Linked DNA regions of Homo sapiens: all the other regions are linked to region 1. Evidence: promoter capture Hi-C in 16 types of primary human blood cells and fetal thymus (Javierre and others, 2016). All regions are on one chromosome and are shown on one strand. Each heading gives the region's core, a stretch centred on a gene start or on the middle of the fragment in contact. The rest is flanking DNA. Distances are from core to core; before and after follow the strand shown. Region 1 holds the start of OXA1L (OXA1L mitochondrial inner membrane insertase). Region 2 has its middle 35 kb from the start of LINC02332. Region 3 has its middle 14 kb from the start of LINC02332. Region 4 overlaps DAD1 (defender against cell death 1). Region 5 overlaps DAD1 (defender against cell death 1). Region 6 has its middle 21 kb from the start of OR6J1. Region 7 overlaps RBM23 (RNA binding motif protein 23).

Evidence for each region. Contacts are between HindIII fragments. The CHiCAGO score rates a contact against its expected background, and 5 or more counts as called.
Region 2: a contact is called between a fragment that was not itself captured here and the fragment with the promoter of OXA1L in region 1, in 3 of 17 cell types (M1 macrophages, endothelial precursors and M0 macrophages). The highest score is 6.0, in M1 macrophages.
Region 3: a fragment that was not itself captured here is called in contact with the fragment with the promoter of OXA1L in region 1 in 5 of 17 cell types (M1 macrophages, megakaryocytes, M2 macrophages and 2 more); the score reaches 7.6 in M1 macrophages.
Region 4: a fragment that was not itself captured here is called in contact with the fragment with the promoter of OXA1L in region 1 in 10 of 17 cell types (megakaryocytes, M1 macrophages, M2 macrophages and 7 more); the score reaches 16.3 in megakaryocytes.
Region 5: a fragment that was not itself captured here is called in contact with the fragment with the promoter of OXA1L in region 1 in 5 of 17 cell types (M1 macrophages, megakaryocytes, erythroblasts and 2 more); the score reaches 7.2 in M1 macrophages.
Region 6: a contact is called between a fragment that was not itself captured here and the fragment with the promoter of OXA1L in region 1, in 2 of 17 cell types (endothelial precursors and M1 macrophages). The highest score is 5.7, in endothelial precursors.
Region 7: a contact is called between a fragment that was not itself captured here and the fragment with the promoter of OXA1L in region 1, in 1 of 17 cell types (monocytes). The highest score is 5.2, in monocytes.

What each region holds. Positions count from the first base shown.
Region 1 is chr14:22,764,986-22,768,881 of GRCh38, forward strand. It overlaps OXA1L (OXA1L mitochondrial inner membrane insertase), which reads left to right and starts at 1,703. Exons shown (of 10, transcript NM_005015.5): 1 at 1,703-1,779; 2 at 2,263-2,424; 3 at 2,973-3,186. The coding sequence starts at 1,717. It overlaps OXA1L-DT (OXA1L divergent transcript), which reads right to left and starts at 1,577. Exons shown (of 3, transcript XR_001750638.3): 1 at 1,439-1,577. RefSeq lists enhancers at 298-861, 862-1,424, 1,425-1,988, 1,582-1,811. The HindIII fragment of the contact is 1,636 bases long and covers 1,194-2,829 here.
Region 2 is chr14:22,519,748-22,523,643 of GRCh38, forward strand. It overlaps TRA, TRAJ24, TRAJ23, TRAJ22 and TRAJ21. Among named protein-coding and RNA genes, the nearest start is that of LINC02332, 35 kb to the right of the region's middle. The HindIII fragment of the contact is 1,839 bases long and covers 690-2,528 here.
Region 3 is chr14:22,541,571-22,545,466 of GRCh38, forward strand. It overlaps TRA, TRAJ4, TRAJ3, TRAJ2 and TRAJ1. Among named protein-coding and RNA genes, the nearest start is that of LINC02332, 14 kb to the right of the region's middle. The HindIII fragment of the contact is 3,702 bases long and covers 1-3,657 here.
Region 4 is chr14:22,562,021-22,565,916 of GRCh38, forward strand. DAD1 (defender against cell death 1) reads right to left here. Exons shown (of 3, transcript NM_001344.4): 3 at 2,887-3,117. Among named protein-coding and RNA genes, the nearest start is that of LINC02332, 6.9 kb to the left of the region's middle. The HindIII fragment of the contact is 384 bases long and covers 1,774-2,157 here.
Region 5 is chr14:22,581,835-22,585,730 of GRCh38, forward strand. All of the region lies in intron 1 of DAD1 (defender against cell death 1), which reads right to left. Among named protein-coding and RNA genes, the nearest start is that of DAD1, 5.4 kb to the right of the region's middle. RefSeq lists an enhancer at 461-962. The HindIII fragment of the contact is 4,923 bases long and covers 1-3,896 here.
Region 6 is chr14:22,621,852-22,625,747 of GRCh38, forward strand. No RefSeq gene overlaps it. Among named protein-coding and RNA genes, the nearest start is that of OR6J1, 21 kb to the right of the region's middle. The HindIII fragment of the contact is 2,566 bases long and covers 383-2,948 here.
Region 7 is chr14:22,907,864-22,911,759 of GRCh38, forward strand. It overlaps RBM23 (RNA binding motif protein 23), which reads right to left. Exons shown (of 14, transcript NM_001077351.2): 2 at 3,465-3,540; 3 at 1,620-1,732; 4 at 470-517. The coding sequence starts at 3,530. Among named protein-coding and RNA genes, the nearest start is that of RBM23, 9.3 kb to the right of the region's middle. The HindIII fragment of the contact is 3,239 bases long and covers 74-3,312 here.

The DNA of each region.
Region 1 (3,896 bases), core at 453-2,952:
TAGCATCCAACATATGCAAGTGTTAGCTCATACCACTAATTATTACTAAATCAGTATTATAGTTCTTTGCCTCCTATTTTCGCCATATCTGTCAGGTACATTCATAATCGTTCCAAATGAGCAGTCACTGAAATAATTTCAGGTTATTGTATCTTTCTGAAACTATAATTTGTTGTTTAGAAAGTAATCTGCATATTGAGAGACTTTGTAAGGGTTCAAACATAATCAAACTCCACCTTTCTGACCAGTAACTTTTTTCCCTGAAGATGAATGCTTTTAACTTCAAGAAACAGAACACCCAAGCAACAGACTTAGAGTCTAAACAGTAAAGACCTTTAATCATCTTTTTTTTTTTTTTTTTGAGATGGAGTCTGTCGCCCAGGCTAGAGTGAGGTGGCTCCACCTCGGCTCACTGCAACCTCCACCTCCCGGATTCAAGCGATTCTCCTGCCTCAGCCTCCCTAGTAGCTGGGACTACAGGTATGCACCACCACGCCCGCCTAGTTATTTTGTTTTTTTGTTTTTTGTATTTTTAGTAGAGACAGGATTTCACCATGTTGGCCAGGCTGGTCTCGATCTCTTGACCTAGTTATCGAGACCACCTCAGCCTCCCAAAGTGATGAGATTACAGGTATGAGCCACTGCACCCGGCCAAGACCTTTAATTAACTTACACAACAAAGTCTGGAGATAGGCAGTTCCAAGCATGGTACAGCAGCTCAATGATATCATCAAGTATTTGGGTGTTTTCTATCTTTGCCCTCAACCATCTTCAGCACGTGAGTTTTTCTTTCCTTTTTTTTTTTTTTTTTGAGACGGAGTCTCGCTCTTGTTGCCCAGGCTGGAGTGCAGTGGCACAATCCCGGCTCACTGCAACCTCTGCATCCCGGGTTCAAGTGATTCTCCTGCCTCAGCCTCCCGAGTAGCTGGGATTACAGGCGCCCACCACCACGCCCGGCTAATTTTTGTATTTTTAGTAGAAATGGGGTTTCACCATGTTGGCCAGGATGGTCTCGACCTCCTGATCTCGTGATCCACCCACCTCGGCCTCCCAAAGTACTGGGATTACAGACCTGAGCCACCGCGCCCGGCCTGCACGTGAGCTTTTCATCTGGAAACTTGTCCCCTCATGGTCAGTCCTCACACCACCCCACTTACAGAAGAAAAAAATGGAAAGGTGAAGTCTCCTCTGGAAGCTTCGTCTTTTTATCTGGGAGGAAAATATTTCCCAGAAGCTGCCTTCTTTTAATTTCTGTCAGACTCTAGACTACCCTCAAATTTCACTGGACCTGCGATTACAATATTACCTAGCAATAAGAATCAAAAGAATCGAACATCATTGAGTGGGAAAAATCCTCTGCAAGTACAGCCAAGCCTTTTCTGAGGCTATTTTTAAACTTACAAATCAGAGGACAATCGCGACATTAGAGGAAAATTACCCAGGTTTACGCCATCACTAACGATGATAGCTTACGATGATAGCTAACCCAGCTCTTCAACTTCCTTTCAATCTCCAGAAAAGGCTCTCTGCGTGCTAATGGTAACGTGGCTTTACAGATTTTTACCCACTTCAAATATGGCCGCCAAGCTCCGTTCTCTTTTACCGCCTGATCTGCGGCTACAATTCTGGCTTCATGCCCGCCTCCAAAAGTGCTTCCTCTCGAGGGGTTGTGGTTCTTACTGCGCAGGCGCAAAAGCAAGTCCTCTTCCGGGCAAAATGGCGATGGGACTAATGTGCGGACGCCGGGAGCTTCTGCGCTTGCTACAGTCCGGGCGTCGGGTAAGGATGCCCCGGGGCAGAGCACCGGGATGCTGCCCTGACCCAGTGAACCAGGCCCCAGGACAGCTCGTGCTAGGGGTATCAGCAGACGCTGACCTGCTCACCGGGACCTGAATGTCATGACCTCGGGTCATGTGAGGACGCGCTAGGGTTAGTCCCCGACACTATGGGCCCAGCAGCCCGGTGTCAGCTTCTGGAATTGGCTTGGCTCCTGGCGAGAGCACCTCGGCCTCGTTCTCAGGGCCCTCCGATGTGGGTCTGCGATAACTGAGATGCGGGGAACCCAGGTTCGAGCTTCGCTCTGCAGGCACCACCCGCTGCATGCCTTCGGGCTAGCGGTCTGCGCGCGGTGATAGCAATGTCCTCCCCTGTAGTGGCCGAGCTGCCTGCTTCTTGGGGAGTTAGCATAATGAATCCCGTTTGCACCCACGCGAGGACTTCTGCTCCCGGTAAAGGGGCTCCATCATCCTTTTACACGCTCAGGTCCACAGCGTCGCAGGGCCCTCGCAATGGCTTGGGAAACCGCTGACCACACGGCTCCTATTCCCAGCAGCCCCGTGCTGCTGTCGCCCACACTACCTCTTCCTTGCGGCTTCCGGCCCCCGCAGCCTCAGTACCTCTGCTATCTCTTTTGCAGAAGTCCAGGTAAGAGGCCTTTCGTTCCTGCAATATTAGGAGTGGTGTTTCCTGGTTGGTTTCATATTTTGTTTTGTTTGGGAGCAGGGGGAATATGGAGCAGAGTTCTTGTCCACGCTCCACACAGCTCTCCAAAATGATAGCATCTCTGCTTAGGATGGATTTTCAATTCAGTGGGGAAATGATTGAAAGTACAACAGGAGAGATGTTATATTTGGTTTTCTGAGCTGTTTTAAAGAAAAGCAATTGTTTCATGTTAATATATGGCAAAAATCATGATAGTGATATTCAAATGGCTGAAGTTTGGAAAACAGTGATAAAAGAAATAACTTCCCAGCATGAAGGGAAGTCATGGATTCTTACTCAAAGTAACTTCTCTTCCTAACTATTGATAAAAATGAGATGTCCTTTTTAAGCTTGAAATCTGCAGACACTAGGCTAACCTGGAAGAACAAGAAGTAGAGAGAACAGAACCCAGTACTGGTTATTATAAAAAGATCTCACTTGCTTTGTGTTCGCTACTGAATAAATATAATACAAGGCTTTCTTTCACACAGGTTCAGGCCCCTCCTGTTGTTGCTGCAACTCCCTCACCCACAGCAGTACCTGAGGTGGCTTCTGGAGAGACTGCAGATGTAGTCCAAACTGCTGCAGAGCAGAGCTTCGCTGAACTGGGGCTGGGGTCATACACCCCAGTGGGACTGATCCAGAATTTACTGGAATTTATGCATGTTGATCTGGGCCTACCTTGGTGGGGGGCCATTGCTGCATGTAAGGGGAATATACCCTGGACATGGGTTAGGGATTTAACCTCATAGATGGCAATTCTTTGAATGGATTCAGGAAGTAGTTGCAGAAGCTCTGGGGTCAGAAGAGCAGATGATTTCAAATGAGCAATAGAGGTTCATGATACCTAGATGCACTCTGCCTATATTTCTTAAAGAGCATTATAAAACCACCAGATCATCTGGGATTCAAGAAGTGTAGATATTTGAATACAAACATGGGGTTAGAGTCAGGGGACCTTATTAACAGTCATGAAGCTATCCTGGTTTAGAACAGAGGTTCAGGTCAGGCACTTAAACCCCTAAATTGGGAAGCCACTAGCATTGCTTTTGTAAAGGCTAGAACTCTGCTTTGAATTATGTGTCTTTCTGCCACGTTGCTCCATCAATTATCTTTTCTCCCCTGTGTCTTCAGCATTTCCCTCCTCACTGCCCTACCCCGAACATGTAAACATGCTCAGGCACACCCATGTGTTACCTGGGGGAAGGTTTCTTCCCTTCATCCTTAGTTCCCCTTCACTTACTATCCTATCTTCTTCCTTTGATGGCTGTTATTTATTTTGTTGTTGTTAATTTTTGTGGATACCTAGTAGGTGTATATATTTATGGGCTACATGAGATGTTTTGATAGAGGCATGCAAGGTGTAATAATCACATTATGGAGAATGAGATATCCATCCCCTTAAGCATTTATCC
Region 2 (3,896 bases), core at 359-2,858, 250 kb before region 1:
TGGCTTTCTGCCCTTGCCGCCCAGGAGGTGCAGCTCTTGGCACACACCATCCTTAGTGTCTTGAAAGAAGAGAAATTAAAAGAGAAAGGGGGAAAAGCTTATATCTCATATCATGCAGTTGCCTCATTTTGTAGCAAGATTGTTTCCCCATGAGCAGTTTGTCTTCATTCAGCAGCTGTCTTCTCTGGGGAAGCCATTTTGTAGAGGTGTTTGTCACAGTGTGACAACTGACAGCTGGGGGAAATTCCAGTTTGGAGCAGGGACCCAGGTTGTGGTCACCCCAGGTAAGCCCCATTCCCTGGAGCCTCACCTGCCCTTAGTATTTGGCATGCCCTGCATGCCAAATATTTCTAGCCGAGACTATGAGAAACACATCTGAAAGGAAGCCATTTCCCTGAACAGCAGTACCCAAAGCCATTAAGCAAAAATGAGAGATCAGACTGGTGTTAAATAGAAACGTTTTTGGATAAATAGTAATTCTCATTATTCTCTATCAGTCTCCTGTGTGAATACCCTTATTTCCCTTATAAGGAAAAAAGTTACAATAAGCAGGATAGCCATGATTCATGCTGTGGTGTGGGAGCAATCTGCTGTGGATTTGGGGGTGGAGGATTAGAAATGTGTTCAGGCAGACTGGATGTGTTTTTGACAGGATATGTAACACAGTGTGATTTATAACCAGGGAGGAAAGCTTATCTTCGGACAGGGAACGGAGTTATCTGTGAAACCCAGTAAGTATAAAATTGTATCCCTGGATTAAGCAATGTCTGTGGATTAAGGGCTGATTTAGACCCAATTATACACCATATGAAGAATGTTTAGAGAGGGGGATGAGCATCAAATAGGAAGCCAATCGTCGTCCTGGCTAGGATCTAGCATCTCAGTGCAAAATGGGCTATGTAAGTGTGCCTCTGGGAATTGCTCCTGAATATATGTGTTGGGACTAAAATGTATGACTGGCTACTTGTTGTATTGGCTGGGATCATATCCCTGGATTTGTGCAGTAATTGGTGACAAGATTTCTAATTCCTTAACAAACCTTCTAAGGCACTATTCTATTTGGCTAAGATTATGTCAATTTATAGAAGGAAAGAACCTTGTAAATAATGATCATTAACCAAAAGTAATGTGATTAGTCTCTCTCAAAGTCTGAAAAACCACTTTTTTTTAAAAAGTTTACTCATGACTACTGAGGGACACTTCCTGTTTCTGAGACTTTCAGCCAAAAATTCGTACAGCGTAGCCTCACGGAGCAGAGAGAACCTTGACAACATTCCTTTTTGACTTTCTCCATGGATGAGAAAACTGAGGCTCAGGGAAGAGACAGATCCCGGCCCCACAGCCAGTCTATGGCTGAGCTAGAACTAGATTTTAGGTCTCTAATTTGCCAAACCTGTCAGTTGGCTCAAACTTGAAGTTTGAAGAGTCCGCAAGATTCATCTGACAAATATTTTCATGTACTTGCCCTCTGCCAGGCTCGTTGCTGAAACCAGGGATCCAACAGGAAGCAAACTCAGTGTGATATTGCCTTCATGAAACTTACATTCTGGAGGTGGATTCCATGTTTCTTCCCAGATATGACAATGCTTACCCTGATTTCTCTTGGGCATGGCTCTCTTATACTATCATCACTTCCTTAGGAAATACTAAAACTAATTTTTGCTGCAGTTTAAAGTCCTTGAGCAGATAACTAACACACATACCACTTTAGTCAGGAGAAGGGAAATGCCCAAAAGTGAAGTAGAAAACTAGGAATTTGTCTGATAATTGATTATTATAAAGTTATTTTATCAGTGTGAAATGAGTGGCCAAATTAACTGGACAATGCCAGCTCTGTACCTACCTCACTTTGATTCTATAGACTCAGTCTCAGGAGGATTCAAGAATTCAGACAGTTCTCTGATGACATAATCCAGTGATGCCCACAACAGAGGAGGCGTATTCTCTATTCTGGACTTTGTGAGTCTCCTTGGATGAAAAGATTCAAGTGCTGTTTTGACACCTAAAATCAGAGAGTATTTGCTCTATACATATATCGAAAATACACAGTTAATGTTTAGAACTTTGTAGTGGAAAGTGGAAAGCAAAGGTCCCCTAAAAGAAAATGGGATTGTAAAGACGAAGGAGGGTTAGTTTAGGATTTGTAGAAAGTCAGTTTGGCTACTCCAGACCAAACCTAGATTAACAGTGATGCAGGCCTAATTCATAAAGGAAGCACTGCCAGCTCTTTATTCAGTGCTTTGCCAACCTGGCCTGTTTGATCTGGTTTTTGTTGTTGAGCAAATCATAGTGTTTCTTCTGGTTCTGCAAGGCAACTGACCTTTGGATCTGGGACACAATTGACTGTTTTACCTGGTAGGCTGCCTCAATTAAATACTATTTGCACTGATTTACTAATCTACAAATGTATTCTGTACATGTAACTTAATGGGCCTGAGGTTGAAGATGGGGAGAGACAGCAACAATGCATACTAGAAAGGGTAATGCGAGCAGAGAATTATTTATCAGAGACCAAGAAGAGAAAGAGAAGCTTTTTGCTAAGGCTTTTAGTAATAGGAGTTAATGAAAATGAATAGAAAAAAATTTCATTTTAACTTAGAAGAATTGCTGAATAATGGGAACAGATTCCATAAGGGGAACCTCTGCTTCTGAAAATATTTGCACTAGGACCAGCCTACGTGCTACAAAAACTGTCTCACACCAAGTCTAGTTGGTCACTTACATTTTTAGCCTATTCTAGTAGCTATTTCTAAATAAGTCTTTAAACATAGAGGTGCCTATATTTAAGATATTTAAATGAGGCTCTATTTCTATAGCTCTCTGGTGCCCTTCCAGCAAAGCATTGCTGTAACACATTGCTTATCATTTCTACAAGTGAGAACAAGTAAGCCCCTGGCCCTCCAAAATTGCATGAGTATTATAATTACTTGGCTTAGATTGAAGTCACTTCTGTGTTACTTCTCATAACTGTGTTCATTTGTTGAGATCTGTTTAACTCCAAACTGTGTGGGCGTCTAACTGTTGGCACTAAGGTTTCTTTTCTCTTGAAATTGCCAGCAAAATATTTTACCCATAAATAATGTTTCATCTAGACTTGCAAATGACAACTAACACTGCAGGCTCTTTTTTTTTCTTTTGCTTTGTTTCTTTTTTTCTGAAGGGAATATGCAAGCAGGAAGCAAAAAAAAAAAAAAAGCCAAAATGTACAGTTTGACTGTGGGGTCTGGGAGGAGAGTGTCAATGTGGATGCTAAAATATACATGGTTGTATAATGTAGGTACTGTCACAGAGAGGCTATAGTGATCTTATTAGATCATACATACAGAGCACCACTGGTCAGCTGGCGTTGCTCGGGGTGTCCTTAAGAAAAGCTCAGGTCTAGTTGTCAAGTGCAACCCAGATTCAGATACAGAGTCTCAGAGAGAAGCTTCCAGATCACCCTGGAGCTAAATGCAGAATATGAATTTTCCCCTTAGTTAAGTCTACCTGAGGGGAATTTTCATTTATAATTAGGAAAAGAGAAAGGTAAAGAACATTTACTTGCAGTGTCCTGTTTCAAATATTGTGTGCATTGAGCACAGAGGACACAAGAATGAACCCAAGCAGAAAACTAAAGAAAAGAAATCAATAAAACCACTGAAGAAAACCAGTTGCCCTTATCTTGCCTGTCTCTGATAATGAATGTGCCTTCCCTGCTCATTCCTCACTTTGGTTCTCAAATTTTCCAGGGAATTAGCAAAGAACTGGTAGGGTTGGGTTAGTCTTGGTCTAATTTGGTTAGTCATCTCTGGATAACAAGTCTCCTTTTTAGGAAGTGCCAGGGGATTTTTTGTAATGCCAATAAACATGGTGTACAACTTCAACAAATTTTACTTTGGATCTGGGACCAAACTCAA
Region 3 (3,896 bases), core at 557-3,056, 220 kb before region 1:
GAAGGTTTACAATATCTCGATAAGTAAGCAGTACAAATGAGTTCTAGCAGTAAAAAAGAAAGAGGTCTAATGATAAATATATGAAGCCTGTCTCCACTTGAGAGACCTCCTAGAAAAGATTTGTTCTAAGGAAACTTTTCTCCATTAGGAGCAGAATCATCTTGGAAATATACAGCTCCAAGTTGTGTTAGAAAGGTGTGTACAAAGAAGACCAAAAATTCACATTTGGAATAAGGCATTAAAGTTGCCATTGTTTCTAGTAGGGAAACCCTGCAAAGTGTTGGGGCATCGTAGATCCTGCATGTTGACGCCTGCAACTAATCTGCCCCGGAGCTGTTCCGACAGTGGCTGGAGCATTTGCTGCACAGTTGCATAGGTGTTCAACAATTGCCAAAATAAAATGAAGCTATTTCGTGATGATTAGAAAGAAATAATCAGCATCAATGAGGCCTCTGATGCATCTTCAGGAGTGAGTAGGTGGAATGAAGACCTGGTAGGTGAGACTTTTCTCTCTTGTCAGAGAAAGTTTGACTTGGGGGAGCCTGGAAAACAGGGACAGGAGATGGAGTGCCCCAGCCAGGCATGCCCTGCCCAGGTCAGAGTTCTTGTAAAGCACCATCTGATTGTGTGTTTTCTGGTGGCTACAATAAGCTGATTTTTGGAGCAGGGACCAGGCTGGCTGTACACCCATGTGAGTATGACCCTGCAAGTGACCAGTGCAAAAAGAACTGACCACTTGTCTATGAGAAAACAGGTGATGATCTATAGCAAACTTGGGGATATATTGAGAAGCACTCATTTTCCATTCCTACAAGCTCTCTTGGTGACTTAAAATGTTCCCATTTCTCATATGAAACACAGAAGTGCCAAGAGCCAATTGCGTAAATGAAAATCTGAGCAGAATAATTTATAGAAACATAAAAAGAGTTCCAAATAATGAGTGCTTTCAAGTGAAGCTGATAATATCGGCACCAGATAATCTGAACATTCAGGAAATTAGCTAAGTGCCCTTGGGGGAAAGAGATGAGTTAATGGCAAACACAAATTCTCTTTTATTGCAGCATGTAGCTAAATTCCCTGGATTGGCTAATAAACATGGTATGGGGATCCCTACTCATAGAATCTTCCTCTCTGGAGTTAGGAGAGTTTTCAGCTTCCTCCTAAGGGTAAAAGTGGCCCAGACCCCTAACTGAACGGCAAGTATACCACATGCAATTACAAGGTATAGAGGCAGCAATGTAGAGGGAGGCCCACAGACCTGGGGAAAATCTGGGCTCTACTCTCACTGGCTGTTTTCAATAAAGCCTCCACTTTCTCAGCAGCAAAATGACTATAACTACATCATAATAATATGAGATAATGGCCAGAATGTAAAAAGTGATCAATAAGTAGTAGCTTTTCTAAAATATTATTATAATTATTATTATTGAGGCTTTGCTTATACTAAGGTTTACACTATCATAAAGGGAAAGGAGAATCGCTTCCTTGGGAAATAAAAGATGTAAGCAACAAAGACCCAAGGAGCCTTTTAGAATGTTGCTCTGGGACCCCAGTGGCTTCCAGCAGATTAGCATCAAGAAGGTTATCTCAAAGACCTTACCCACAGTGGGGGTACAGCAGTGCTTCCAAGATAATCTTTGGATCAGGGACCAGACTCAGCATCCGGCCAAGTAAGTAGAATGAAGCAGGAGAGCAAGGGAGGACGGACAACTATTTCTTCTTTGTCCAAAATGCCAACTTGAACCCAGGTATTTTCCTCTGTGGGCTCCAAAATGGTTTCTTCCACCCATCCCCAGAAAATCCTCCCATCCAGCTCTCGGTGCTCTGCAGACATCATCCTTAGGCTGGGACCTTAGGAACCATGAGGCAGGCAATGAGCGAGTACTCCTGAACCTTCCACAAACATATCCAAGATACTGCTGCCTGGAATTGAGGTTTTTGTTCTAGGGAATTATTGGTTTATTGAAATCATATGAAGTCACAACCTCAGCCCAGGGAATCACAGCAGAATGGAACAGGAGGAGAACTTTTGTATCAGAAGCGAAATTTCAGTGCAAAAGAGCAGAAGGTTTAGGCCTGGCGTGGTGGCTCACGCCTGTAATCCTAGCACTTTGGGAGGCCGAGGCAGGGAGATCACAAGGTCAGGAGATCAAGACCATCCTGGCTAACACAGTGAAACCCTATCTCTACTAAAAATACAAAAATTAGCCGGGCGTGATGGCACGCGCCTGTAGTCTCAGCTACTCGGGAGACTGAGGCAGGAGAATTGTTGAACCCGGGAGGCAGAGATTGCAGTGAGCTGAGATCGCATCATTGCACTCCAGCCTGGGCAACAGAGCAAGACTCCTTCTCAAAAAAACAAAAAAAAAAAAAAAAAAGAAGGTCTAACCCTTAGGAGTGTGATTATCCTGTTCTCCTGCCTTGTGGGGGAGATCAGTGTTTCTCTTATTTAAGTAATAGGTAGGTCCTGTGAGTTTGTGCAATGGTGTCACCTACGGTATGAATACTGGAGGAACAATTGATAAACTCACATTTGGGAAAGGGACCCATGTATTCATTATATCTGGTGAGTCATCCCAGGTGGCACCACGTGCAACCCCATGGGCCAGTGTCACTAATCCTTTCTCTGGAGATATCACTTATTACTATGGTGAGGCTTGCTGTAGATGTTGTAACTAATTTTCTTACAGAGGTCTGGGAAGGGAAAAGCATTACTATCTATCTTGAATATTCATGTTTCTCTAGGTCAAACACATTAAAATTTGACTTTAATCATTCAATGGGTATTGTAAAATGCCTTCTATGTGACTATCACTCTATAAAATGTTAGACTGAGTATGAAGTGTGAGATAGATTCCTGTCCTGTCCTCAAGTGGTATAAAAACTAGACAAAGGTACTGAACTATTGTAAATTAAGCAGCCAGAAAACTATTTTAGTATTGACCAGTTGATGATGTCAATGGACACAATAGAGATTCAGAGGGGATAGGGTGCTGGCTGAGAAGTTGGCCTAGACTGAGAAGTTTCCTGTGGTACAAAGGATTCATTGAGCCCTGAAGGATGGATAAGATCTGTATGGGCAGAGAAAGGAGAGAAGGGAAGTTCTGGGCGTAGGGAACGACAAGAAAGAAGGCATGATCTTGGGAATAATCAAGGCACATGCAAAGTAGCCTAAGTATACATCTGATAATAAAATTGGTTGAAAAGTAGTCAGAGAAGATGTCTTTTTAGGCATGGAAAAAGGAAATACTAGAGCATTCAACAGAATACAGAAATTAGGGCCAGGGCCAGCCATTGGGAAACTGAGAATCCGATTTAGAGATGCAGACTAGAAGTGAAGGTGAGAGCAGCCAGCTATGGTGCCGCAGACCTCCCCTCTCCTTCCTCAGTGGGCTCTGAGAGGGGTCATCCCACACCTTAGAGGAGGAGAAACCTAAGGGATTCTGTAATAGAGACACGGGGCATGGTATGAAAGTATTACCTCCCAGTTGCAATTTGGCAAAGGAACCAGAGTTTCCACTTCTCCCCGTACGTCTGCCCATGCCCACAGTTTCCTGATGCTCACTAAAGCCTCGGTGGGACCCAGAGTGACTGTCACTAATTCTGATTTCTGGGTCCCTAGTGCCCAAACACGGGGGACAGATTTAATGGTAAGGAAGCTTTCAATCACTGCTGTGTCCCTAGGGATCTAAAGCACTAGAGCACATGTGCTTCTGCAGTTCATTTTGAATTTAAAGGACAGCTTAGGATCTAGAATAGCTGAATTTCCACCTCAAAACATTGGTTCCGTCTTGCCAAGCCTACCTTCTGATATCATCAGTGATGGGATGTGTTTTTCTTACTAGGGTAGAATAGGATGTCTCTCCCCAAAGGACTCTGGCAGACAGACCCCTAAA
Region 4 (3,896 bases), core at 716-3,215, 200 kb before region 1:
GCTAGGGTCTACCTCACTCTCCATGCAGTAGTACTCAAAATCAACTCCTTCAACATACTTCAGCTGAAAAAACACCTAAGAATCAGAAACGCAATGGGGCTTGGGGGTGTGTCTTTAAGTTCAAGACAGGGTCTTGTTCTGTTGCCCAGACTGAAGCGCAGTGGTGCAATCATGCAGTCTCTACCTCCTGGGATCAAGTGACTCTCCAAACTCAGCCTCCCGAGTAGCTGGGACTACAGAGGTGCACTGCCACGCCCAGCTAATTTTTTTAATTTTTGTAGAGACAGGGACTCACTGTGTTGCCCAGGCTGGTCTTGAACTCCTGGGTTCAAGCCATTCTTCCACCTTGGCCTCCCAAAGTTCTGGGATTACAGGTGTAAGCCACTGAGCACCTGGCGCTTTTTCAGTGTTGTCTTTTTTTTTTTTCTTTTTGTGATGAAGTTTCGCTTCTGTTGCCCAGGGTGGAGTGCAATGGCACAATCTCGGCTCACTGCAACCTCCGCCTACCAGGTTCTAGCAATTCTCCTGTCTCAGACTCCTGAGTAGCTGGGATTACAGGCTCATGCCACCACGCCTGGCTAATTTTTGTATTTTTAGTAGAGACAGGGTTTCATCATATTGGTCAGGCTGGTCTCCTGACCTCAGGTGATCCACCCACCTCGGCCTCCCAAAGTGCTGGGATTTACAGGCATGAACCACCATGCCTGGCCTCTTTTAAGAACAGGGTCTTACATTGTTGCCCAGGCTGGAGTGCAGCGGCTACTCACAGGTCCACAGCTAATTCTTCAGTACATGTCAAATTGAGAACCATAAAGCAAATCAACAGAAGCATAAAAACAAGAGTTACCTATAATGAGCCTTTAACTAAATCTAATCCCAACACTCCAAAAGCAGTCTGTAGGTTTTAGCCCCGAAGCAAATATTGAAAAGACACACCAAAGAAGAATGTTTCCTGTTGATGGTAACTGGCTTGGGTAAATCACAACCTCTGAGACAATAGCTGACCTGGTAAATGGGAATTTAATACCTGTCCCATGTATCTCAAGATCATTATGAAAAATTAAACAAAACCTATGTATTAAAGACTGCAATTACAATGTCTTCCTTCATAAAATTACTATTATTCCCAGTTTTCAACCCGTGTCTCAAAGTCCAGATGCTTTTCTTATTCAAAATTCCAATTTCTCTAGACTAAAAATTATCCAGAAGCCTCCTGATAGGGTCTGTGACATCTGTATATAAGTTTTAGAACAGATTAGGCCAGGCACAGTGGCTCACGCCTATAATCCCAGCACTTTGGGAGGCTGAGGCGGGCAGATCACCTGAGGTCAGGAGTTTGAGACCAGCCTGACCAACATGGAGAAACCCTGTCTCTACTAAAAATACAAAAATTAGCCGGGCATGTTGGTGTGCACCTATAATCCCAGCTACTCGGGAGGCTGGGGTGGGAGAATTGCTTGAACCCAGGAGGCGGAGGTTGCAGTGAGCCGAGATCACACCATTGCACTCCAGCCTGGGTAACGAGAGCAAAACTCCATCTCACAAAAACAAAAAAGAAAAAAAAAAGTGCAGATTAAACTGCTCAGTTATAATCTCAATGAACTAGTATCACTTAAGAATGGCAAACCATGACCCACATAGCCACAACCAATTTTTATAAATAAAGTGATAGTGGAATATAGCCATGCCCATTTGTTTAAGGAAAAGCTTGCGGACTCCTGACTCAGTGTGTTACCAGTTAGGCAGAGAGCTAATAAGAAACATACAGGCCCAAGCTTTTCACCAAGTTCCTAGGTAATCTTGAGACATGCCAAACTTTGAGAACCACTGCTGTAGATGAGAGATTCTCAAATCTTATTGTGCACATAAATCACCGGAGGACCTTGTTAAAATGAAGATGTTGCTTCTGTAGGTTTGGGGTGAGGCCTGTGCTCCCAGGCGATGCCAATACTGGTAGTCAATGACTACATTTTGAGTAGCAAGAATCCAGAGCAGTGTTTCTCCAATTTGCTGTGCTCTGGAATCACCTGGGTAGCTTTACAAACTACAGAAGCCACCCCAAGAGATTTTTACTTAATTGGTGTGGGTTGTGGCCTGGACGTTGGGATTTTCTTTTTACATTACCCAAGTCATGCTAACGTGCAGCCAAGTTGGAGAAGCTTGAAACTCATCATTCTCGGTAGTTGGCTAAATTTAAGTAGTGGCATTCTCAACATAGCTTCCGCCCCATATATAGCAACCCAACAGCACCCAAGATGAAAACAGGGCTGCGAACATGACAGACTTCAGCCAGCAGACCTACATTCCATCCAAGCTTTGTCATGAACTCTGATCTTAAGCAAGTCACAAATCTGAGTTTCAATTTCTTCACCTAACTAATGAGGACAGGAACCCCTAAGATAATTGCAAGAATAAAATGAGAGAATATTTGTGAAGGTGCTTTGGAAAATATTGTATCTTATAAGTCAACACATACATAACCCCCATTTTTCACTCTGTCTACATTGCCTAAGAGAAATATATTTCACTTTTACCACTAAAACATGTTGAAACAGATGTAAATGTGGTAGCACATACTTAGTTCAATTTCTAGCAGAGTGCATAATGATGCAGTTCCAGGAATGCACTGTCATAAGAGTGGAAGCACCTGTAACAATCGAAGGATTAGTAAAGGATTACCTGCTCCAGGAAGAAGACAAAGGACTGCCATTTCCCAGGGTTGTCAGCACTGCCTTTTGCCATTAACTTCAAATATACTTAATGAAAACAAGGAGGCAGGTTCACAGCTGTAAGTTACCAACTCATAAAGAGTTCAGCACAGAGGACTGAAGAGAAAAAAAGGATTCTGATACCAGCAAAGAATAAAAACAGAGCCAGAGGCATATGGAGGAGTGGCATGGAGTTCTTTAATTTGGAAGGCAAAAGGTTACATTTAATGAAAGGCAGAGGCTGGATTAATAAATGTTTGTTAGAAAGTTGTTCTGACACACAGTGAACTCTGGGCTTTTCTCCTGCATAAAAAGCAGAGCTAGCAGTAAGTGCAAATCTGAAGAAAATCCATGTGTCCAATAAGCTGCCATCTCCAGAACTCTTATCCAGGAAATTCAAAGAGTGAACCTAGAAGAAAAAAGCAGCAAGGTTAAATGTCTTATGATACTAGAGACAGGGCCCCAAATCCTTCCATCTAAATTCTAACCCACAAGACAGTTATGGGGTTCCCACACTCAGGACAATATTTAAACCAGGCGAGAAAAACTAGAAAGAAGCAAGTATTTTTCAAAGAACATTTTATGGGAGTAGTATCCAGAAAAATTAATGTCAAAACTGAATTTCAAGCACATCAAAGCAAAACGAACTAGGAACTGTGAGACATGTGTCCTAACTCCAGCTCTACCATTAATTAGCCGCAAGACTTCACATAAGTCACTGACTTCCCTGGCCCACAAATTCTTTGAGGTGAGAGGGTTGTAGTTTAACCTAAAGAGCTTTCTGGAATCTAAAATGCTTATGAAGCACAGATTTCCATTGGTGGGGAGGCAGGGTAGGGAAGTAAGGATTCAAGAAAGAAAGAAAAATTCCCAATCTCAGCTATAACAAAGGACCAAAATATAAGAAATAATTTAGTTTTCATTTAAAGATAAGTTTATTTTTGGCAAGAAAAAGGTGAAGAAAGAGTAACCGCAACAGAAGTGGCCACATTGCTGCTAGAGCCAAATGGAACTGAGATCTGTAACTTGTGAGGTGGAACCCTCACCACAAGATACAGGCTTCCTTTAGTCCCTCAAAGCACAGCCTCCCACCTACTGGACTCCAGCACAGCTCTGGTTGGAAAGTGACCTCCAGCCTTAGGGGCTCCAATGTCTCCAGCTATAAGCAACTGATTTTCCCAGTGTGCC
Region 5 (3,896 bases), core at 680-3,179, 180 kb before region 1:
CATGGTAAGCCTCAGAAAACAGTACGGATTCAGTTATAAGAGCGGTGGAACAGTATAATGGTTCGCAAGGTTAAAAAGAGGCAGAAGGCCGGGCGCAGTGGCTCACGCCTGTAATCCCAGCACTTTGGGAGGCCGAGGTGGGTGGATCACAAGGTCAGGAATTCAAGACCAGCCTGGTCAAGAAGGTGAAACCCCATCTCTACTAAAAATAAAATACAAAAAATTAGCCGGGTGCAGTGGCAGGCTCCTGGAATCCCAGCTACTAGGGAGGCTGAGGCAGAAGAATCGCTTGAACTCCAAGGGCGGAGGTTGCAGTGAGCTGAGATCGCGCCACTGCACTCCAGCCTGGCGACACAGTGAGACTGCGTCTCAAAAAAATAAAAATAAAAATAAAAATAGGCCAGGCGCAGTGGCTCACACCTGTAATCCCAGCACTTTGGGAAGCCAAGGCGGGCGGATCACAAGGTCAGGAGATCGAGACCATCCTGGCTAACATGGTGAGACCCATCTCCACTAAAAAATACAAAAAAAAAAAAAAAATTAGCCGGTCATTGTGGCGGGTGCCTGTAGTCCCAGCTACTCGGGAGGCTGAGGCAGGAGAATGGCGTGAACCCGGGAGGCGGAGCTTGCAGTGAGCCGAAATCGCGCCACTGCACTCCAGCCTGGGCAACAGAGCGAGACTCCGTCTCAAAAATATAAAAAATAAAAAGAAGCAGAAGAATTACTTAGGACCCAAAGAGCTCAGGGGAATGGTAGTAAAAATGGACAGAAATAAAGACATACAGGCTATATTTTGGAGAAGACAGAGCTTGCTGATGAAACAGATGCAGGAGATAAGAGAAATCAAGGGACCCCGGAAACTTAAATTTCTTCATTTAAAAACACAACCGGCCGGGCATGGCGGCTCACACCTGTAATCCCAGCACTTTGGGAGGCCGAGGTGGGTGAATCACCTGAGGTCAGGAGTTCGTGACCAGCCTGGCCAACATGGCGAAACCTCGTCTCTACTAAAAATACAAAAATTAGCCGGGCATGGGGGAGCGTGCCTGTAATCCCAGCTACTCAGGAGGCTGAGGCAGGAGAATTGCTTAAACCCGGGAGATGGAGGTTGCAGTGAGCCGAGATTGTGCCACTGCACTCCAGCCTGGGTGACAGAGTGAGACTATGTCTCAAAAAAAAAAAAAAAAAAACCACAACCAACATTGACACCACGTACTAACTGGTGAAGAGGCAGATGGCTGGATGAGCAGGTTTGATCTTGGACATGTTAAGTTCAAGGTACATATCAGACATCAAGTGAAGACATCAAGTTGGCAACTGGATTTACTAATTTGGAATTCGGGGGACAGTTCAAAACTAAAAATATAAAGGAGTAGTTGTAGGTATACAGGTGTTATTTAAGTTTATCTATTTAAAAAAAAATACAAAGTGAAGGTATCTACAACCATGCTCTCAGTCAGAGAAGCGCCCAGCACAAAACAGCAGAAAGGAAAAAGCAGTGAGGTGAGACAGAACAAGCAGGAGAGTGTTGTATTCAAGAAAAAACTTTCCTTTTACACAGAAGCCAATACCTACATTAAATGCTAAACGTTGCAACATGGCAAGAGTAGTTTCAGTGAAGTAATTCAGTGAAGTAGTGAGGACAGACCAATACCAAGAGTGGGTTAAGGAATGAATAGTTAAGGGAGGAAGTAGGAACATTAATTATTCTTTCAAGAAATTCTGTAATGATGGAAAGGAAATGGGATGGTAGCTAGAAGATTATCTGTGGTCAAACGGATTTTTTTTAAATAGACAATATTAGAACATGTTTGTATGATGGGAATGATCCAGGAGAGAAACAGAAATTAATGACACGGAACAGAGGAATAATTGCAGAAGCGGAGTCCCTGAGTGAGCAAGGGAAGACTGGATCCTCTGCACAAGCAGAGCTTTCACAGGAAAGAGACACATCATCCACCATGAGAAGTCAGAGAGTATGGGTATAAAAGTAGGTGATCTGTTATGATTCAGTGGTGAAAAGATGAAGGAATTCTTATCTACTTCTTTTTTTTAGTGAAAAAATAAAAGCAAGATCACCAACTAAGAATAAAGGAAAAGAGGAAAAATAGAGTGATTTATGAAGCCTACTTTAGGAAGGCGAATGTATAAGAGAAATATTATTGCAGGACCACTAGGCAGGGTTGGATGCACATTGTGTTCCCATTCTCACCAATAATTCTCCATCAGCACCATATCCATATTTACTTGTCTGTATTTCCCACTAATTACAAACTCTGTGAGAGTAGAAGCCACGTCTGTGTGCTTCACAGTTGAATTCCCAGCACCTTGGCAGAGAACCTAGCACATCATTGCTCACTATTCCTGACATGACTATAGGCCTGCTCACCATTTAACATATACAGTGTTCAGCACTGAGGATGGAGAGATGAGAAGACAGCCCCTGCCCTCAAGGGCTCACCTTCCAGAGAGAAGGCAGACACCCAAATACAGCACAATGCCATATCTCTCTCACACACACACATACAAGGTGAAAAAGGAATACAGAGGAAAGACCTCAATCTGCTGGAGAGTCAGGGAAGGGTTCCAAAGGGCAATAAGCCAGGCATAGTGCTGTGTGCCTATAGTCCTAGCTACTCAGGAGGCTGAGGCAGGACTGCTTGAGCCAAGGAGTTTGAGGCCAGCCTGGGCAACATAGCAAGACCTTGTTCTCTTTAAAAACAGTAACAAAAAAAAAAGGAAATTGCACTTGAGCTGAGAAGTCTAAAAAGTGAAGGAATTTTGAAGGCAGTCAAGCAAAGGCAAATAGTTTGACACATGAGAGTGTTCAGAGAATGACAAGTAGCTCAATACTGTTGGAGCAGAGTATAGAGGAGGCAGAGGCAAGAGATGAAGCTGCAGACAGCGAGGAAGCCAGATCATGAAAGAGCCTGTATGTCAAAAAAAAAGTTTTAATTTTACTTTGGGAAACACAAATTGTACATGGGAGTGACACAATCAGATTTGCAAGTCAAATCAAGCCTGCAAACACAATAGAAGATGGACTGGAAACCAGAGGCCGGAAGGCCAGTAAGGAGGATTACAGTAGTCTTCATAAGAGATATTGAGAGGCTAAAACAGAGGATGAAAAAGTAGCAATGATATGAAAGATATTTAGAAACAAGACTATCAGGCACATGGGTGGCAAACTTCTAATCTCTCGGATAACAGTTATGAGAGATAATATTAGGATCCACAGATCTGATGGATAATTCCAAAAGAAATGCTGGACCCCAGTCCACAACAGCCTAATAGCTCCCGTGAGACAGAAAACTCTGGACTAGGCCTCCTTGCCTTACAGATTCAAACTGGTTTTGAATTTGTAAACTAGGAAAAACAAAACTATTTTTTAAGACAAAATTACCTCATATAGATTAGAGAACAGAACAGATGAAAGTTGGGAAATGAATTAAAACTTGTTTCAAGACCAAAGACTTATTTTGAGGACAGTCTTAATGTTTTCTACTTATCCCTCCTAAATAGCACTTTAAATGAGCACAGCTTTCAGTTGGGCAAAAAAGGAAACTAAAGGGTTGCCAACACTGGAATATAACTCTAAAAAAGGGACAGATGTCCTCTTCTAGAGATATCTAACTACAAGATAAACAGTCAGCTACTGGATGTTTGAAATCTGTCTCAAATAGAAAAATATTCTACCTCTGAGGTCCTTTTAAAGCCAATATATTATACTCTGATGATCCAAAACACACACAAAAAAAGATCTCTCAATGACAACTTTCTACCTCTGGTTCCTTCTTGAAACCATGGTTAAGTCTCTCAGCTATGAGGGAATAGAAGAAAACAGACTATTTTCATACCATCAGGCCCAATAACAACAGGTTTTTTAAAGGTTTGGT
Region 6 (3,896 bases), core at 416-2,915, 140 kb before region 1:
AGGAGGAAAGACCTTCCTCATTCCTGGAGAGAATACTAAGGAGGATTAACAGATGTCAGCAGGTGCACAGAGTCTGTTCCCCAACCCACAAGGACCCCATTATCTTGGTTGGTGACTCTGCTAAAGGCCTAGGAGATCTGTAGACTTCACCTTACTGATGGCTGATGCTCCTTCTTCCTGGAATATTCTGAGGCCTAATGGAGAGTTTGTGATAATTCAGCAACCACATATTTTAGTTGGTATATATGTGTCTTAGTCTGTTTCTTCTGCTATAAAGGAATACCTGAGGCCAGGTAATTTATAAAGAAAAGAAAACCTGTCAGTTCTGCAGGCTGTACAAGAAGCATGGCATCAGCATCTGCTTCTGGTGAGGGCCTCAGGAAGCTTCCACTCATGCTGGAAGGGTAAGGGGAGCTGGAGTGTGCAGAGATCACATGACAAGGCAGCGCAGGCCAGAGAGAAACAAGTGAGGTGCCAGGCTTGTTTTAACAATCTCTCCCAGGCACTGCTAGAACAAGAACTCACTCATAACCACACAGACAGCACCAAGCCATTCATGAGGAATCTGCCCCATGACCCAGACACCTCCCATTAGGCCCCATCTCAACATTGGGGATCAAATTTCAACATGAGATTTGAAGAGTCAGATATCCAAACTATAACAATATGAGAACAAATCACACACAACCAGAAGAATCCTGAGACATGCTAGTGGCTGAAAAGGATCCTGAAGGATATGGCGTTAGAGGTGATATTTTCATCTTCTCAGTTTGACCAGCTGACACCATGTGTTGTGTCTGGGAAAAGAATTTTTGAGAGGGCTCACAACTTATGATAGATTTATGGGCCTCTGATAAATTATGAGGTAACTAACACAAAAACTGGGCATCATGTACTTTCTAAAATGTTCAAGGAAAGTGTCCAAATGTAACTGCAAAACCATATATTATAGCAGTGGCTTCCTACATAGATCCACAGACTGGAGCTGGTCCATGATAAAGTATTTCTGGTTCATAACAAAATAGTGCCTTTTTTTTTTTAGTATTTTTAAATTCTGAAATTATATCCTTTCTAACCCTTTCAGGATTAAACTATTGTTATTTTATAAAAAGATGCTGATATTCTACGATTGTTTGGGGGTGAGAGGGAATGTCATTTTTTGTTTCCAAACATATCAATTTTAGAATTTTTTCCTGTATTTGTAATTAATATTATTAAAATCCTAAAGTCTGGGGAGTGCTGGCTATATTACAGAAGACCAGAGTGGGAGAGGAACTTGAATTTTATGACAAGAAGATAGATAAGTCAATCATGTGGATCCCATGACTGGAGGGGACCGTGGAAAGATAACGCTGTTCAGAGGAAGTGAATCTAATTGAAGGGACTCAACAATAGCATGTATGCCAAAAAGGAAACCACAGAACTGAAGGTGGAAATGTTTGGATGGGGATAAAAGGAGAAACAAACAGAAATAGATACTAAGATAATTGGAGGACACAGATGCTGCTTTCTTAGTTCAGACTGCCAAACATCAAAAGCAAGTTACAGTAGTGCCAGAGGTCTCCAAGAATCAGGACACTAACATGAGTCTCTTTCTGCCAGAAGCAGAGCACCTAGTAAATTCTTGCTCTACTCACAATTGCGTTTACTAGAATATTGAAAAAAGATTGTCAGATGTAATTTTTATAGATTTCAGGAAGTCAGATTTCAGAATGTTCCAAGGAAAATTATCTATAGTGCTTAAAAGGGACAGGGCATTCTCAAACATGAAGTTTCAATTGTATCTCAAAGGGTCCTGCTGAGGAAGAATGAAGCGGCTTCAGCAATCAGAAAGCGGCTGCACAGGTTGTTTTCTGATATGATCAAAGTGTGGGCAGAGATGAATGTCAAGTCTTTCACATGAGAAAAATGAACCTCGGCCGAGTGTGGTGGCTCACGCCTGTAATCCCAGCACTTTAGGGGACTGAGGCAGGAGGATCGCTTGAGCCCAGGAGTTCAAGACCAGCCTGGGCAATATGGCAAGACTCCATAGCTAAAAGTAAAAATAAAAATAAAAAATTTAATTAGCTGGGCATGGTGGCATGTGACTGTAGTCCTAGCTACTCGGGAGGCTGAGGCAGAAGGATTGCTTGAGCCCAGAAGTTCAAGGCTGCAGTGAGCTATGAAGCTATGGAGTGCCACTGCACCACAGCCTGGGCAACACAGTCAGACCATGTCTCCAAAAAAAAAAAAAAAAAAGATAGAAAAAAATGAACCAAACTAGTAAAGCAATGGCAGTTGATGTGAAAAGATTAAACCGATGTGAAGGTTTTAGTGGGCTAGAAGCTCTGTTTATGGCAGTAAAGGAATGAAGCTGCCCCAAAAGCTAATGGAAAGCTAGGTCTCATTCCCTGCATTGATTGGGGGACTCAATGGTTTCACTGTAACCTGATTTGAGTGTTGGGTTCAATTCTGAGAACATTTTTCCTTTTTTTAAATGTAAACAAAAATTTTTAATTGTACAAAAATAAGACAAAATTAAAAACACTTTTTAAAAAATCTATAATTATACTACCCACAAATAACCATGTTAAATACATTGGAATATATTCTTTCAGATGATATATATGTTATTATATACATAAATGTATATTTACTAGAATGAGAGCATACTAACAAAGTGCTTTATAAAAATTTTTAACCTTATTGTTATAAATCTCTTTCTATACCAATAAATATAGAATCCATAGAAATATATCATCATTTTTAACTGTTGCATCTTCTTCCACTGTCTGGATTTACTATAGTTCATTTACCTGCTTCTCTGTTCTTGGACTTTAAATTGCTTCCAAATATTTGTATGTTATAAACAATGTGCGCTAAGTCCCTTGTACGTACATATTTGCATATTTGACCAATTATTTCCTTCCTTGAGGTAAGATTGCAGGATTGAAGGGTTTGCAAAATGAAGCTTTTTTTTTTTATTTTGAGACAGAGCCTCACTCTGTCACCCAGGCTGGAGTGCAGTGGCGCGCTCTCGGCTCAGTGCAATCTCCACCTCCTAGGTTCACGCAATTATCTTGCCTCAGCCTCTTGAGTAGCTGGGATTACAGGCACACATGACCCTGCATGGCTAATCTTTTTGTATTTTTAGTAGAGACAGGGTTTTGCCATGTTGGCGCTGGTCTCGAACTCCTGACCTCAGGCAATCCACCCTCCTCGGCCTCCCAAAGTGCTGGGATTACAGGCATGAGCCACCACGCCCGGCAAAATAAAGCTTTTTGATAAGCAATGAGAATAGTTTATAACAAGTGATCAGAAAAAGAAAAGCAACCCAGAGAAAAATAAATGTTTTATTTTTGTGTACATGGCAAGAAATATGAATAAGTAATTTACAGAAGAAGATATGCAAATGACCAATGAATGATCGCTTCTCGGCCTTTTGGCTCTGATAAAGTGTACAAATGACCAATGAAGCCGGAACCAGTGGCTCATGCCTGTAATCCCAGCACTTTGGGAGGCCAAGGTGGGTGGATCACCTGAGGTCAGGAGTTCGAGACCAGCCTGGCCAACATGGTGAAACCTCGTCTCTACTAAAAATACAAAAATTAGCCGGGTGTGGTAGCAGGTTCCTGTAATCCCAGCTACTTGGGAAACTGAGGTAGAAGAATCGCTTGAACCCGGGATGCAGAGGTTGCAGTGAGCCGAGATCATGCCATTGCATTCCAGCCTGGATGACAACAGCAAAACTCCATCTCAAAAAAAAAAAAAAAAAAAAGAGGCCAGATGTGTTGGCTCATGCCTGTAATCCCAGCACTTTGAGAGGCCAAGGGGTGGATCACCTGAGGTCAGGAGTTCATGACCAGCCTGGCCAACATGGAGAAACCCTGTCTCTACTAAAAATACAAAAATTAGCC
Region 7 (3,896 bases), core at 443-2,942, 140 kb after region 1:
TTTGTGTCGTAGTTTTCAACAATAACAATAATGTTTAAAAAGTAAAAGACAAAAAAATTTAAAAATAGAAAAAAGCTTATAGAATAAGGACATAAAGAAAACTTGTAGAGTTGTACAATGTGTTTGTGTTTTAAGCTAAATGTTTCAATTTTTTATTTTTATTTTTATTTTTTTTGAGACAGGTTCTCCATCTGTTGCCCAGGCAGGAGTTTAGTGCTGCAATCTCGGCTCACTGCAACCTCGAACTCCTGGGCCCAAGCAATCCTCCAGCCTTAGCCTCCCAAGTAGCTGGGAGTACAAACATGTACTACTACACCTGGGTAATTTTTAAATTTTTTGTAGAGACAGGATTTTGCTATGTTGCCCAGGCTGGTTTTGAACTCCTGGCCTGAAGTGATCCTCCCGCCTTGGCTTCCAAAGTGCTAGGATTAAAGATACGAGCCACTGTGCCTGGCCCAGAATTACTGACCTGCGCTTTCTATCCCTGCTTTTATTATGGCTCCGACTCCTCTTCTTCCTGTGAAAGAGAGTACATTCTTCTTTTTTTTTTTTTAATTTTGAGAAAGAATCTCGCTCTGTCGTGCAGTGGTGCAATCTTGGCTCACTGCAACCTCCGCCTTCCAGGTTCAAGCGATCCTCATGCCTTAGCCTCCTGAGTAGCTGGGATTACAGGCATGTACCATCATGCCCAGCTAATTTTTTATATTTTTAGTAGAGACAAGGTTTCGCTATGTTGGCCAGGTTCATCTTGAACCCCTGGCCTCAAGTGATCCACCTGCCTCAGCCTCCCAAAGTGCTGGGATTACATGCATGAGCCCCGCGTGAGCACCGCGCCAGGTCAGGAGTGTAAATTCTTAAAGAGAAGGTTTCGTTATTGCTGCCAAAGAAAAGGAATTACAGTAAGGCCAGAATGAAACAGAAAGCATGAAAAAACCAAAGACCCGAAGATGATCCAGCAGTGGTTCACAGCAATTGCACAATACCAACTTACAGCCCTGAAAGCTGTCAGGCATCTGAAGAGGCCATTTTTCCCCCTAATGCGAAGCAAAACCTGGTGTTTCCAAATCAGGGGTCCTCTTGCTATTTTTTTTTTTTTTGAGACAGAGTCTCACTCTGTTTCCCAGGCTGGAGTGCGATGGTGCGACCTCGGCTCACTACAACCTCTGCCTCCCATGTTCAAGCAATTCTCCTGCCTCAGCCTCCTGAGTAGCTGGGATTACAGGAGCCTGCCACCGCGCCCAGCTAATTTTTGTATTTTTAGTAGAGACGGGGTTTCACCATGTTGGTCAATCTGGTCTCGAACTCCTGACCTCAGGTGATCCACCCACCTCGGCCTCCCAAAGTGCTGGGATTACAGGTGTGAGCCACCACGCCCAGCCCCTCTTGGTATTTTATTCAAATGAAGTATATTGATGCTAGGACTAATCCACAAATCTACACTGGAAAATGAAGACTAGATAATTAAATCAAGTCACCATTATTCTCATGACCTAGGTGGAGCCATTACTAACAGTCAGCAGTCTTAACAGAAACAATCTCCCTATTCTGGTTATTTTTCCAATGGACAAAACTGTTTCCCTTCCCCAAGTTGCCAACCCATTTCTTCCTCCCACACTCACTTGCTTGTCTCCCCGATGGTGCTGCTTCCACTGGTCTCATTGCCACTGTTGCTGGTGCTGCTGGTGGTATTGCTAGGATAATCCTTTTTAACTTCTTTCCTTTGTTGCTCATCCTGAGGCATTCACCAGGAAAATGTCACAAGGTATAAGGTGGCAGACACACAGATTCCAATGGGCAAAGGGAACAAAGGTGGACAAGGAATAAATCAAACCACTTGATTATCTAGCCAGATTTTCAGCACCCTTATTTCCTAACAAAGGGAGTAAGAAAGGAATCAAGGAAACTACCTAAAAGGAAGAGATCAGCATGACAGATTTTGATGTCAAACTTCAGTTACCCAACATCTGCTCCACTAACATTTCCCAGGAGAGTTACAAATTGGTGCTAGGCTGGGGGCAGTGGCTCACGCCTGTAATCCCAGCACTTTTAAAGGCTGAGGCAGGCGGATCAATTGAGGCCAGGAGTTTGAGACCAGCCTCGCCGACATGTCGAAACCCCATCTCTACTAAAAATACAAAAATTAGCCAGGCATAGTGGCACACGCCTGTAGTCCCAGCTACTTGGGAGGCTGAGGCAGGAGAATCATTTGAATCTGGGAGGCAAAGGTTGCAGTAACTGGGATTGTACCACTGCACTCCAGCCTGGGCAGCCTAGTGAGACTCTGTCTCAAAAAAAAAAAAAAAAAAAAAAAAAAGAGGCTGGGCGCAGTGGCTCACACCTATAATCCCAGCACTTTGGGAGGCCAAGGCAGGCGGGTCACCTGAGGTCAGGAGTTCCAGACCAGCCTGACCAACATGGAGAAACCATCTCCACTAAAAAGACAAAATTAGCCAGGGGTGGTGGCACATGCCTGTAATCCCAGCTACTTGGGAGGCAGGAGAATCGCCTGAACCCGGAGGCAGAGGTTGTGGTGAGCTGAGAACGCGCCACTGCACTCCAGCCTGGGCAATGAGTGAAACTTCATCTCAAAAAAAAAAAAAAAAAAAAAAAAAGAAAGGAAAAAAGAAAGCGGTGGGGGGGAAAGGAAGGGAGAAGGAGGGAGGGATGGGAGGAGAGGGCAGAGGGAGGGAAAAGCAAGCAAGCAAGCAAGCAAATTGCTGTTAAGTGGGCCAGGTGCAGTGGCTCACTCCTGTAATCCCAGCACTTTGGGAGGCCAAGGCAGATCGCTTGAGCCTGGGAGCTCGAGACCAGCCCAGGCAACATAGCAAGACCCTGTCTCTATAAAAAATATATTAAAAAAGAAACTGGGACGGGCGCAGTGGCTCACGCCTGTAATCCCATTACTTTGGAAGGCCAAGGTGGGTGGATCATAAGGTCAGGAGATCAAGACCATCCTGGCCAACATGGTGAAACCCCGTCTCTACTAAAAATACAAAAATTAGCTGGGCATGGTGGTGCTTGCCTATAATCCTAGCTACTTGGGACGCTGAGGCATGAGAATGGCTTGAACCCAGGAGGCGGAGGTTGCAGTGAGCCAAGATTGTGCCACTGCACTCCAGCCTGGCAACAGAGCGAGACTCTGTCTCAAAAGAAAAAAAAAAGAAATTGGTGCTAGGTCTGAGGTACAGTGACTTTCTACTGTGTCACTTCGAGTTTTGAGCAAAGCACAGATTACCAACACCACATTATGTGCCCACTCCGGTTTCTGAGGTTGTCTCTAAAAGTATGGCTCTTAACCATAGTCTCCAGCAAAGCTTACTAAGACTATGCCTTTTATGATTAGTTATTCTACATAATAAATAAGCAGGGAAAGAGGATTCATAAAATGTTGAAAGTTGAAAGTGATGATCGACAACTACTCTTTCTCATTAACCCAATTCCAGGAGTGAGGTGGAAAATATTACCTCTTCTTTTTTATAGGGAGCTTCCAGCATGGCCTCAATCACTATGTCAAAGTCATCAGATGCCATCCTGTCAGATCTGGGGAGAGGATATTAATATGTAAGAATCTGTTTTATATTTTTCCTCCCTTTCCAGCACCACACATTTCTTTCCCACTCCAAGAAAGAGACTTCAGGATATACAGATTTCAGTTCTGTTTCTTGAACTGCAAAGAAACCTTACCAGCTGTCACTTACTCTAGGTTTATTTTTACACCCTATAGATCTGAACTAGTTCGACTTTGTGGCTTGGAACAGTCAAGGATAGTCCGGGCGCAGTGGCTCACACCTGTAATCCTAGCACTCTGGGAGGGCAAGGCAGGCAGATCACCTGAGGTCAGGAGTTTGAGACCAGCCTGGCCAACATGGCGAAACCCCCTCTACCAAAAATATAAA